Regions from separate parts of the Homo sapiens genome. Here all the other regions are linked to region 2. The links are contacts of gene promoters, found by promoter capture Hi-C in blood cells and fetal thymus (Javierre and others, 2016). All regions are on one chromosome and are shown on one strand. The core of a region is centred on a gene start or on the middle of the fragment in contact, and the rest is flanking DNA. Distances in the headings are between cores, read along the strand shown.

Region 1 (2,999 bases), core at 492-2,991, 360 kb before region 2:
GTCTCAAACTCCTCAGCTCAAGTGATCTGCCCACCTCAACCTCCCTAAGTGCTGAGATTGCAGGAGTGATCCACCACGCCTGGCCTAAACCTTTATTTTTGAATGCTCTTTGGTGCATGTATATTAATTTATATTTGTAATTTCTATGTTATATATATGTATATATGTATATATATATTTTCATTTTAAGTGAGGTTTTCCAGCATAGAAAAAAGCTTACATCCCAGACAATATAGGGCTCTGAGTGGGAATAAACAAGTTTTATTTCTACCCTAGCTTTTACTGGCTATGTGACCATGGCAAGTAACAGCCTTCTTGAACCTCAGTTTCCAGTTTCCTCATCTCTCTTTCTTTCTTTTTTTTTTTTTTTTTTTTTTTTTTTGAGACGGAGTCTTGCTCTGTCGCCCAGGCTGGAGTGCAGTGACACGATGATCTTGGCTCACTGCAACCTCCACCTCCCGGGTTCAAGCGATTCTCCTGCCTTAGCCTCCCAAGTAGCTGGGACTACAGGCATGGGCCCCATGCCTGGCTAATTTTTGTATTTTTAGTAGAGATGGGGTTTCACCATATTGGTCAGGCTGGTCTTGAACTCCTGACTTCGTGATCCGCCTGCTTCGGCCTCCCAAAGTACTGGGATTACAGGCATGAGCCACCACGCCTGGCCAGTTTTCTCATCTTTCAAAGGCACCAGGCATGGTGGCTCACACCTGTAATCCTAGCACTTTGGGAGGATGAGTCAGGTGGATCATTTGAGTCCAGGAGTTCAAAACCAGCTTGGGCAACATGGCAAAACCCTGTCTCTACAAAAAATACAAAAATTTGCCAGGCATGGTGGTGCATGCCTGTGGTCCCAGCTACTCAGGAGGCTGAGGTGGGAGGATCGCTTGAGCCCAGGAGGTGGAGATTACAGTGAGCCAAGATTGTGCTACTGCACTGTAGCCAGGTGACAGAGCCAGACATTGTCTCAAAAAAAAAAAAAAAAGGAACATTCTTACCTAATGAAGTTGTTATAAGTATCCAACATAGTATAAGCTATGCAATAGTGCTTTGTAGGTATCCAGCATAGGTAGGCAACTCATATGCCAAAGATGATACTTGGCTGATTTTCTGTATCATGGCCAGCAGTTGCTACCTCACACTGAAACACTGAACAGATTATTCCCTGCCATCATAGAGCTTATATTCCAACAGAAGGGGACTGGCAATAAACATGTTTGTATATGCTAATTTCAGGGTGTGGTAAGTATTATTAAGAAAAAAAATACCCAATACGATATGTTCCAGAGTGATAGTGTCTGTGAGGTAGAGGTATGCCACATGGTGATTAGAGAAGGGTTTTCTGAGGAGATGACATTTGAGCCAAGACCTAATAAGAAATAAGAAGCCAGACATGCAAAGAGGTTTATAAGTTGGGCTGAGGTAGGAGAGTCTTAGAAAGTTCTAGAAACAAAAAGAAAGTCAGTGTTATTGGAGTACAGTAAGCGAGAGAGTAGTATGAGAAATGGAAAGGTAGGCTGAGGTCAGATCACATAAGGCCTTGCAGGCTGTGGAAAGGACCTTGGACTGGATCTAAATGCAGGGTGTGAGGGTAGATCGCACCAAGAGTCTTTCTCTATTCATGGTGAAATGGACAGACCCATGGCAGGTACTTAAACCCTGGGAGGTTTTTAGTACTGGCTCTTAAAGCCACCTTCTTCCTCCCTCTCATGTACATTTCTAAGGTACTTCCTGGGTCTACAACAGGACAGGGCTTTCCAAAAGACAACTGTTAACCAAAAGACAACTGTCAACATCATAGTAACTTAGGGAATGATGCACAAAGAAACAGTAAATACTCTCTTTGCTGTTGGGAGAGTTTTCCCCCTCCACCCCATAACTCTTGATCTCTTGGGTTATTTTTCACTCTCAATTGACAAGACTTCCTGGGTTGCTTTTATCACCGTACTGTCAGTAACTTGACTGAGGTCCTGCTCTGTAACAGGCATGCTAGCTCATGTAAGCATTGCAAAACTCTGGGAAGTCCTATAGGTGGAGAGACTGGACTCTTGCTGAAGGTCATAAAACTACTAAGGTACACATCTAAGACCTTTTTAACTTTCAGCCTGAAAAATTTCTTTCAAAGTAAAAACTGCGTTGTCACTTTGTGATGCCAAAGAACCCTTCCATCTATGTTACCCCATATCTTGATAAACTGGTAAAAAAAAAAAAAAAAAGTGGAATGCATGAACTGTGTGCAACAGTCAGTCAACTTGGTGGCATCCTTAAGGTGCCCTGCTCGGTGAAATGGCGGCGGTGGGGGATGCACATCTACTTCTATTAACACTGGGAGTTCAACTGGGCTCTCTGCATCTTCCCAGGTGCTGCTTCCTGCTGCTTTTTACTTCTGCTAGACTCTGACCACTCTGGTTGTTTGGGTGGGGTATATCCCATCACATGGATAGGCCATGAAAAAACCTCAACCCCCAAGGCCTGGTACTCAAGGAGAAATACTAGACGAACATTAGATGGTTTAAAGCTAACAGGGACTGAAACCAGTTAAAAGAGGGAATCAGACATAAGTTGCAAACTGATAGAACAATGATCTGCTGGGGCACATGAGGTTCATGCCTCCCGACATGCTGATGAGCCCCGGTTATGAGCTGGGCACCACAACTGATGGTCTTTTATGAAGGAGTGCTCTTTACACCAAACTTTATCTCATTTTGGTTGTCCCTTTCTAGCCCTTGCTTAGTTCAAAATGTAGTACATCTGCTGTGCTCATCCAGCTTCATCTACTGCTGAGTTGGCTGTGTCCACGCTCAATCTGTCTGCTCTGGTTTCATGATGGTCACTAGCATTCACTTTCCCTGCAAGGCCTACTCGCCGGCTTTCCTAATAGTACACTCTCTTGGCACGATCCTGGGAACTTCACGTACAGTTGTTACCCTCAAAGCCATTGCTACCTGCTAGGGTCTTGGTTCAATTGGCCTCATCTCTCACTCATTCTTGGTTCCTGGAAA
Region 2 (2,923 bases), core at 21-2,520:
CAGATTCACTATTATCCTTTGCCTTAGTTTGATAATCTGTAAAATGGGGCTAATCTCTCTCGAGGCTATGCTGAGGATCAGATGACTGCCAAATATAAAGTATTTATATGGTGCACCGTATAAATACTTTGCACCAACCTTATATATCTTAAGCACCTCGTCAATGGGTGCTGTCATCATATTTGCCAAGAGTTATCCCAGGTGGGAGTGATAGAGCAGTGAACAAAACAGACACAGCCGCTGGCCTCCTCCAGGTGCACACAGCCTTCCAAAAATAATATTAATTAAATAAAGCATTGTAACAACACTGACTTAAACTCCTCTGGTCGGGACTGCCCTGTGACTATGTCTGGAATATGTCTAAATTAGCACCCACAACTGTTTTATAAGTCTTCAAAGCCTGTCTCCTCCCAGGCCTTGAACCCCTGGGCACAGAGACCAGCGGCTGATCCCTACCTTTGGGCGCTCGCCCCTGCACTGTGCCTGGCCCTCAGCAGGCCCTACCGACTGTCCTTGCTGACAACAGGAGGAGGGCTGTTGGCGGCACTGACAAATCAAGCGGGTGTCGGACCTCAGCGCCTAGAGGGAGTGCTCTGTCTCCCTCCTTTCCGCCCGGTCTCAGTCTCCCGCCCGGATTCCCTCCCACCGGCAGTAGCCAACAGCCTGTCCCAGCCTTGACCCCATCCATTCTCTCAGCTTACTCTCAGGGTCCGAAACGTGAAAAGGCCAGCAGCTTAGCAAGGTCTCCGACCTCTGTTCCACTCGCCCTCGCCCTCCTTGCTGCTGCGCCTAAAAGCAATCCCAGGCCCACCGCGCCCGCCCACGCTGGCTTCCCCCAGACACCCCCGGCTGCGATTCCCCTACCAGACTTGGCAGTTCCCCAGGGTGTTCGCATTAGCGCCAAGGGGAAACATTCGTTGTTAATTACGTTGCTTCTTAATGATGAGCGTCTGCCGGGCGGCTCCTCTCAGAAGAAAGGCAAAGTGTTCGGAATCGCAACATTTCTGGCCCTGAGCTCTGGAAGGATCGAGCTCCGCTACGGGCCCAGGGCTGAGAAAACGCGCGACCCCGGGGGTCCGTCCACCTCTTCAGGGAACCCACACATTCCACAGATCTCTGTGAAACAGAAAAAGTGTTCCTTCTGAAGACCAAGGGCGTCCCTACAAGATAGATTCTGTCCTCTTCCCTTTGGCTTCTTGGTGAGGGCGACCCTCTCTGCTGAGAGCGCTTCCCTCCAGCTCGCCACGGAGGACGCTGTGTAGCAAAGAAAGGTCCCTCTTCACTTGTGTGAGTTTGCTAACAGTGCACGCAAGGCTTCTCGGGTGAAAGAGGCCTGAGCCACTTCTTTTGAAGCCCTAAATGTATTTTTTAAATGAAGACATGCCAAACAGCTACAAAAAGTTGTAATTGTGCTGTATTTTAAAGCTCCGCCTTGATTACCAGTGTTGTTTACACGCATGCAACTGTAATGACTGCCTGCATAAGCTCATCTGGAGATAAGGCCTAAAGGCCGTATGTGAGGCCCCTGATGGACATGAGGCCAGGATCAAATAGCTCTTCTCCTCTCCCCTCTGAGACGAGCTCTGTGACTGCAAATACACAGGGAGGGGAGGGGAAGTGGCCTGAGAGAGGCGGCGGGAGGAGAATTAACCCTACAACAGAGACAGTGAGGTTTAAAAAAAATAAGTGGACTTGAGAACTGGGTTCATATTGGGTGCCGGTGAGGATACTTCACCTCCTTCTTGCCTCATTACCCATCTGTAAGCTAAGGAATGTTGAAAGAGGCTTTGTTCTCCAAAAAAGATAAAAACAGTTCTAAGGAGAAAAGAGGCCATGGGCCGGGAAGCAAGAATGCATTGCTAAGAGCACCCTGAAGATGTTTCTTTCCTCCTTCTTGCCTCCCTCCTCCTCCCTGAGATGGAATCAAAATGCTTTAACAGGCAGTTGACGAAGAACACGATTCATCCCAACCAAGTGGAGAGTTTTTCTTGTGTTTGATATTTATTAAAATCTTGGAATTCCACACTTCATCCATTTTTCCCATGGCTTCCCTTCATGCATAAACAGCAAAAAGGATGCTGCTTGTTACATAAACTTGTCAGGCTGCAAAAGCCCAACATTCTGTTTTCTCCCTAAGTGGGGTGCGGGAGGAAGCGTGTGTTTATTATGTATTACAAAGAGCTTTGCACTACCTAAAATCAAAGTAATTAGGTAGTGCGAGTCAAAAATAGTTTTGAAATGTTATAAATAAAGTGACAAAACACTTCTTTAGATTTCTGAGAAATGCATTCCTGACAATATTGCTCCTGCTCTCTCTGCATTTGCTATTAGAAAAGAAAGGCCTTCTTTCTCAGTCTATCTTTGCACCATCACCTGGACACCCTCCGAGATGAGTCACAGGCAGAGGAAATTATCGTGATTGCATATTGTTTAGTCTCTAAACTTCAGCTGCTTCCTGGGCAACCCAGTTGCCTGCAATTTAACCTGCCTGGATGGATGAGCTCATTAATGAGCCGCCCCACAGGCTTTCTCGATTGGCTCTTCTCCAGACCCTAGTTCTCTTTCTTCACCCAGTGGTCACTGGTTCACCAGCCTTCCTTGTGTGATGAAGTAAGTCCTCATCCCACTCTCACTGCGCTCCTCCCTCCTTCTGGAGGAGACCTTAGAAAGGGTGGCAGGAGCAGTCATTTCAAGCATCCAGTGGAGCCTGCACTTTTCACAAAGGCCACCCTTTCTCCAGGATGCTACCAACTTCTCAATGCCCTCCTCCCGGGTTCCTTGGGAGGGAGGGGAATCAAGTCAGCAATTCTTCTTTCTTCCTCCTTTCTTCGCCAAGAGGCTGCTTCCCCATCGTGGGTCAGCGCCAGCCTAGTAGGGAACCCTGAATTCCTCTCATTGTTTTCCCCCTTACAGAGAAGCAGAG
Region 3 (2,898 bases), core at 167-2,666, 290 kb before region 2:
ACTGTTGACACAGGGCCTGGCATGGGAAATGATTACATGGGAAGCCATGTCTGATAACCAGAAATGATACTTCATAATAACACAAAGATAATGAGAGAGATTGGGAGTCAGGTTAGTGTGTGAAACTAGCAGTAGACCGAGAGGGAAAGTGGGTTGTGATCCTTCTTTGAAGTCACCACAGAGTCTTTCTGCTCCTTCACCCACTATGGTTAGTGAATGACCAAGGATACTGACTTTACCTCCTACTATTACTCAAATGTATATCTCTTCTCCGTCATTTCTCCTGTTCAGTTCCTCTTTCTCTCTAGCCTGGTCAATTGCAATATCTTTGTAACATGTTTTCTAGACTGTAATATTGCTCCTATTATCCATCCTTCCAACTAGGAAAGTAATATTCCTGAAGTCCAAATCATGCCATGTCCCTACCTTATTAGTTCTCTGTGTTGAGATCAGATGAAGCTATAGGCAGAGATGCTCTTATGACATGAAGGACTGGGGTTCCCTTGTAAGACCATCAGAATTTGCCCTATCTAAGCCCCTACTCAGGAGCCTAGAGGAATCCCTGAACTGAATGGTCTGAGTCAGCTGATACTCTCAGATAACAGCACTTTGCTCATAATATATGAAAACAGGAGCATGATTTAGAAAAAAAAAAGGAACCAAAATCACCAGCTAATAGATATTATGCAATAAGCACATTACAGAAACACAAAGTCCTGGTGTACATCACCAGGGCAGTCCCTGAGGACAGTCTAGCCAATAACTACACTTAAGTTGGGTCTCCAGATCTGATTTTCTAAGTTTCTGATCCTGGATCCTTTCATAAATTATAGCTGCTACCTCCAATCCCACCCCAAGTCTCATGAACAGGAAATCTGTGAAAAAGTTTTACAGGGAGGTTTGAGAACTCCCTCTGAGCTAGCCAATCCAGAGTCTTGCTTTCAGCCAAGCTTCCATCATACCCAGATTTTAATGATGAGTTATTTATGTTCTCACTTAAGGAAATCCTTTCCTACCCTTTGGAACTTCTATTTATCTTGTTATTAAAACTGTCTTCAAATAGATTTCCTGCTGCAATACAACACACTTGGTGACTTTCTCAGTCTTACAATGGGATTAGATATTTAGTGCTGAAAGGATCATTGCAAGGAGAGCAATCAGGTTTCTTCTCAGTGACAACTGCTTGGTCTTCTTTGCTGTAAAAGAACTTTGCTTTGAGCTTTGATACATGGAAAATGTCTGCCAGAGGCCCTGGTGAGAAAGAGTCCGTGTGTCTGCCCATCTTGGGTCATACCCTTGTCATCCAGGAACTAACAAGTCACCCCAGTTTACATGCAGTTGGCATTGGATGGGTGTAGGCAAATCACCTGGACTATCAAAGATACAGTGTCTAAAAAAGGCTCACTTCCTCCCTATCCCAGGTGGTAACACTGCATCGCAAGTACAGGGCATCCCAAATACAGAACATCCCTAACCCTGCATGCCCAGGGCACTGTTCTCAGCTCTGCTGGTCTGACCAGGTAGTTTCACAGAATTCTTGCTTGGTTAACTTGTAGTTTTTTGACATGATGTGCTAGATAGGTAAGATTTAGGATTCTTATCCATGTAAATGAAACTTAAAAAGAATTTCTCCTGATTGAGTTGCTTAGGGTTTTTGTTTGTTTGTTTGGTATATATATATATATATATAAAGGGGATGTTAGGGCTGTAGTCAGTGGCTGATTATTTGAAAATTTCTTCAACAATATGGGTTCTGTTCTGCTAATTCTCAGACCAATGAGGGCCTGTGTATGCTAGCAGAGAGAGGAAAAGACTAGGGTTTTCAGATTAGGACTCTGGGCCAGAATTTGTTACCATGTGACCTTGGACCACTCATTTAACCAAAGCTTCCCAGCCATTCCCCGTGGAAAGGAAGTGGATTGAATGACCTCCCGGTAGCCTCACCGGGATATTGCGGCTGCAGCAGAGCAAGGGCTGCATATAGAAGAGGAACATGAAGACTTTTTCCTTACAAAGTAAATGATATGAATTGACTGTGGTAAAGTTTCTAAATCAGATTTTTTTTAGTCCAGAGGGACAGCTTTTAAAATGAGAGATTTATTTAAGTTATAAGGAAATATCTGTCAACCCTCAGAAATTGCAAGATGATTATTTTGGTTGTGTGTGTGTATGTGTGTGTGTATTCCTAGTGGAGGGTGAGAGCTTGACTCTTAAGAATCATATAAAATATCAAATTATCTCAACTTCTGATAAATAGGGGGAAAGACAGACATTTTGGGGAGGTTCAAACCTCTATAATTCTTTAGGCATTTAACCCCCCAAGAGCAGGGACTACATTTATTCATTCGTAGTGTCCTCCACTCCATATCAGCATCTGGCACCTAATATGCACTCCATAAATCTTTGTTGTGGTTGAATGAGATCATTTTCCCCATGTCTTTGAAAGACAGAGGCAAAAACAGAGTGTTCTCATTAATGGACAGGGTTTTATTTCATTTTCTTTCCCCTCCCCCCTCCTTCCTTTTTGCCTGTCTGCCTGCCTGCCTTCCTTCCTTCCTTCTTTCCTTCCTTCCTACCTTCCTTCCTTCCTACCTTCTTCCTTCCTTCCTTCCTTCTTGCCTGCTTGCCTGCCTGCCTGCCTGCCTGTGTTAAATAATCTGAATGATTTCAAAGAATCAAAAATGGCTGTTCACATTTGGTAGGGTTCTACGGAGCTTATCTAACATATTTCTAAATGAGTACTGTAACACATCTGGGGCCAGGCACCCAAGCCTGTTCCTGTGTACTCTCTCATTTGCCTAGAAAACATAAATACTGATACAGGTCAGGGAAGCAAACTCTTGAGGGCTGTATTAAAATTCTTTTTATTGCAAGCGATGTAAACTCAATGAAGCAAAA
Region 4 (2,960 bases), core at 438-2,937, 410 kb after region 2:
GAGCCTGCCCTTACTAGGGAAGGTGACTCCTAAGATTTTATAGGCTCCAATTTAGAGTTGAATCATCAAATGTGCAAGCAAACCAAGCTGTACCTGCTGCGAGGCTCTTTTCTCAGGTCTCAAAGCTTTGGGGTTAGCTGACAAACTGAAGTAGCACACCCAAATGCTTGTTGCCTTTAAAAGCCAGAAGAGGCTGACTTAACATTGTTCCCTTAGCAGTAAGCCACGTTTGGTGGCTGAGGAATAAGAAACCCTTCACTCTAATCAAAGTTCTCCCTTGAGTATTTCTATTACCAAGAGATACCTCCACTGGATCCATCTGGGCCTGCACTTTAGGAGTCAAGGTTATCCCTCTTTTCTTCCTACACATTGTTTGTGTAGGACCTAGACTGATGCTGGCTCCTTCTTAATATTTTTTCCCTCCATTCTTGGTGCAAGCTTGACTACTGTCTGGGACAGATAAGAAACTGACATGCCATGCCCTAAGAGCTAGGTCAAGCGGTTTGCATCTTAGTAGACTCTGATCTCCATTACTTCATGAATACCCTAAAAGCAATGAAATGGGTTCATGACAGCCTCCTTAGATCAGGAAGTTAAGTGAGAAATGGCCTGTAGTAGCTCCTCACAAGCCTCTTAATGCTCTTGTGTTCTAGGAAGTTCACAAGGGTGTTCAGCCAAGTCTGAGGTCACCTGTGCTTCAAATTGTACCTGTGGCCAAGTCATTAGGTGCCACAAAGCTATTAGTCTATATGTAGTAACATAACTCATGAACAATGGCTATGAGGTCTATAGTATATTAAACTTAATGTTTAGTGTTCAGCTCTTAAAGCTTTAAGGCTCTTCCATGTTTCTTCTATACTTGTTGCAATTTTTTCAGGAGGGATTTTATAGAATGTCCCTCTTCAAATATCTTGCCCAGTGGAATAAAGTAAACCTTCATCCCTGAGATCTGAGCCTCTGGCTACTTCACCTTTTACTAGGTCATGGCTGCTGCAGTTTGCCAATTCACTGAGCACCAAGACCACTCTCCTTCAAATCCCCTGAGTTGTAGACATGCCAATTCCTGCTGCCACCTAGTAACAGCAATGCAAACTCACCATGATAGGGCTAATTACTATCAGCAAAGCAGACCTGTGCTGTCCCTGCTGGACTACTGGTTTAAGGAGTCCAAAATGATAGCCTAATTGTGGGTTTATTGAACTGTGTCCTCTGGAAGCTCCCTGAAATACTTTGAAGACAACTAATCATTCAGTCTCAGGCATAGTTCTCAAGTGGGTTATTGGGAATGATAGTAAAAGAAGTTAAAGTGATCATTGCTTTGTCACCAATACACAGGACACACAGGGCTGGGAAAAATGTATGATGTAGTCACTGGTTCAATTTGTAGATGCATTCTGGAGGACAGTGCCACAGGCGCATAGACTGTCACTAAGTCAGCACATTAGGATGCAGGAATGCCTTCCTTGAAGATACCTGCAAGACCAGCTTCGGTGTGATGTGGTATATATGGTAGGATGATGGATACTGTGATCAGGTCTTTCACCTCAGGTGTACAATGGGTCCCTCAGTTCAAGGTGATACTTGGAGCCTTGCTTCTGTAGTAGATACTCTCATTGAGACAAGCGTGCGGATCTTGTGCCTAATTCCTCAGGTAGATCCATGTCCTATTCTCTTTGGCTTCATTTTCTTATCTTCAAATCCTGTTCCTTTAGGCCCTTGATCACTAAGGATGAAAGGGGACCATGCACCAAGGAATACAGGCAGCCTAGAGTAGCTGGAGGAGGTAAGATGAATCTCCTAGAATACAGCCCTGCCCACATCTCCATTTTAGCCCAGTGAGATTAACTTCAGACCTGACCTGCAGAGTTGTAGGATATTTATCTATAGTTTGTCTGCAACTTGAAGTGCTGTTAGACTTGGTACTTTCTACCAAAAACACAAGTTTGTGTTAAATTAGGCCACTTAATGGTAATTCTGCAGCAATAGGAAACTCACACCTACTTAATCAGGGCTTGGTAATCTCTACCAAGGACTTGACAGACAGGGGCCTGTTGGGGTATGATTTTTTTGGCTGAGGAATGACAACCCACTCCCTCTCTGCTTCTGGCACTAAGTTATGGCCCCTTCAGGAATGGGAAACTTCATGATAGCACCACCATTGACCACCTTCTGGTAGAGCCTCAGCCAACTCCCAAGCAAGAAAAGCACTAAATGAGCCAGAGTGACTCCACACATTTCCACTCTTCCCCAAGTGGATGTCTTGCCATTCCCCAACTCTCCAGCCCACACTACCCCAAAGCAGTCTCACAAGAGTCCCATACAACTGATTTGGATCAGTGTAAATAGCATACCAATTGGACAACTGAAAAAGCAACTCAACCTCAGTGAGGTTTCAGATAACCAATCACGTGCATATCAATGGTTTGTGTACTGGGGGGTAATAGAAAAGCTCTGTTAATCATGTTTAAACTTCAGGGGGTACATGTGCAGGCTTCTTATAGGTAAACTTGTCACGTGGGTTTGTACAGCTTTTGGCACCCAGGTACTAAGCTTAGTACCCACTAGTTTTCTGGATCCTCTCCCTCCTTCACTTCAGTAGGGCCCCAGTGTCTGTTCCCCTGTGCCATGTGTTCTCATCACTTAGCTCCCACTTAAGTGCAAGCATGGATTCATGTATTTGGTTTCCTGTTCCTGCTTTAGTTTGCTAAAGATAATGGCCTCCAGGAGCTCCATCCATGATCTTGAAAAGGACATGACCTCATTCTTTGTGGCTGCAGGGTATTCCATGGTATATGTACCATGTTCTTTATCCAGTCTATCACTGGGCATTTAGGTTGATTTCATCTCTTCAAAGTCATGTTTATTTTTATCAGCACTATTCTCACAAACAGCACACCTAAGATAAGTGAACAGCTTGCTAATGTATATGTCCAGATACTGTTGAATAGTTAGACATCTTT

The links. Contacts are between HindIII fragments. The CHiCAGO score rates a contact against its expected background, and 5 or more counts as called.
Region 1: a contact is called between a fragment that was not itself captured here and the fragment with the promoter of SHROOM3-AS1 in region 2, in 1 of 17 cell types (M2 macrophages). The highest score is 5.9, in M2 macrophages.
Region 3: a fragment that was not itself captured here is called in contact with the fragment with the promoter of SHROOM3-AS1 in region 2 in 1 of 17 cell types (endothelial precursors); the score reaches 5.2 in endothelial precursors.
Region 4: a contact is called between a fragment that was not itself captured here and the fragment with the promoter of SHROOM3-AS1 in region 2, in 1 of 17 cell types (total CD4 T cells). The highest score is 6.8, in total CD4 T cells.

The regions. Positions count from the first base shown.
Region 1 is chr4:76,444,130-76,447,128 of GRCh38, forward strand. All of the region lies in intron 1 of SHROOM3 (shroom family member 3), which reads left to right. Among named protein-coding and RNA genes, the nearest start is that of SHROOM3, 10 kb to the left of the region's middle. The HindIII fragment of the contact is 3,057 bases long and covers 214-2,999 here.
Region 2 is chr4:76,801,193-76,804,115 of GRCh38, forward strand. It overlaps SHROOM3-AS1 (SHROOM3 antisense RNA 1), which reads right to left and starts at 1,271. Exons shown (of 3, transcript NR_187405.1): 1 at 865-1,271. RefSeq lists an enhancer at 56-846. The HindIII fragment of the contact is 9,780 bases long and covers 1-2,923 here.
Region 3 is chr4:76,515,952-76,518,849 of GRCh38, forward strand. The region is part of intron 1 of SHROOM3 (shroom family member 3); the gene reads left to right. Among named protein-coding and RNA genes, the nearest start is that of MIR4450, 56 kb to the right of the region's middle. The HindIII fragment of the contact is 936 bases long and covers 949-1,884 here.
Region 4 is chr4:77,212,051-77,215,010 of GRCh38, forward strand. No RefSeq gene overlaps it. Among named protein-coding and RNA genes, the nearest start is that of CCNG2, 56 kb to the left of the region's middle. The HindIII fragment of the contact is 1,721 bases long and covers 828-2,548 here.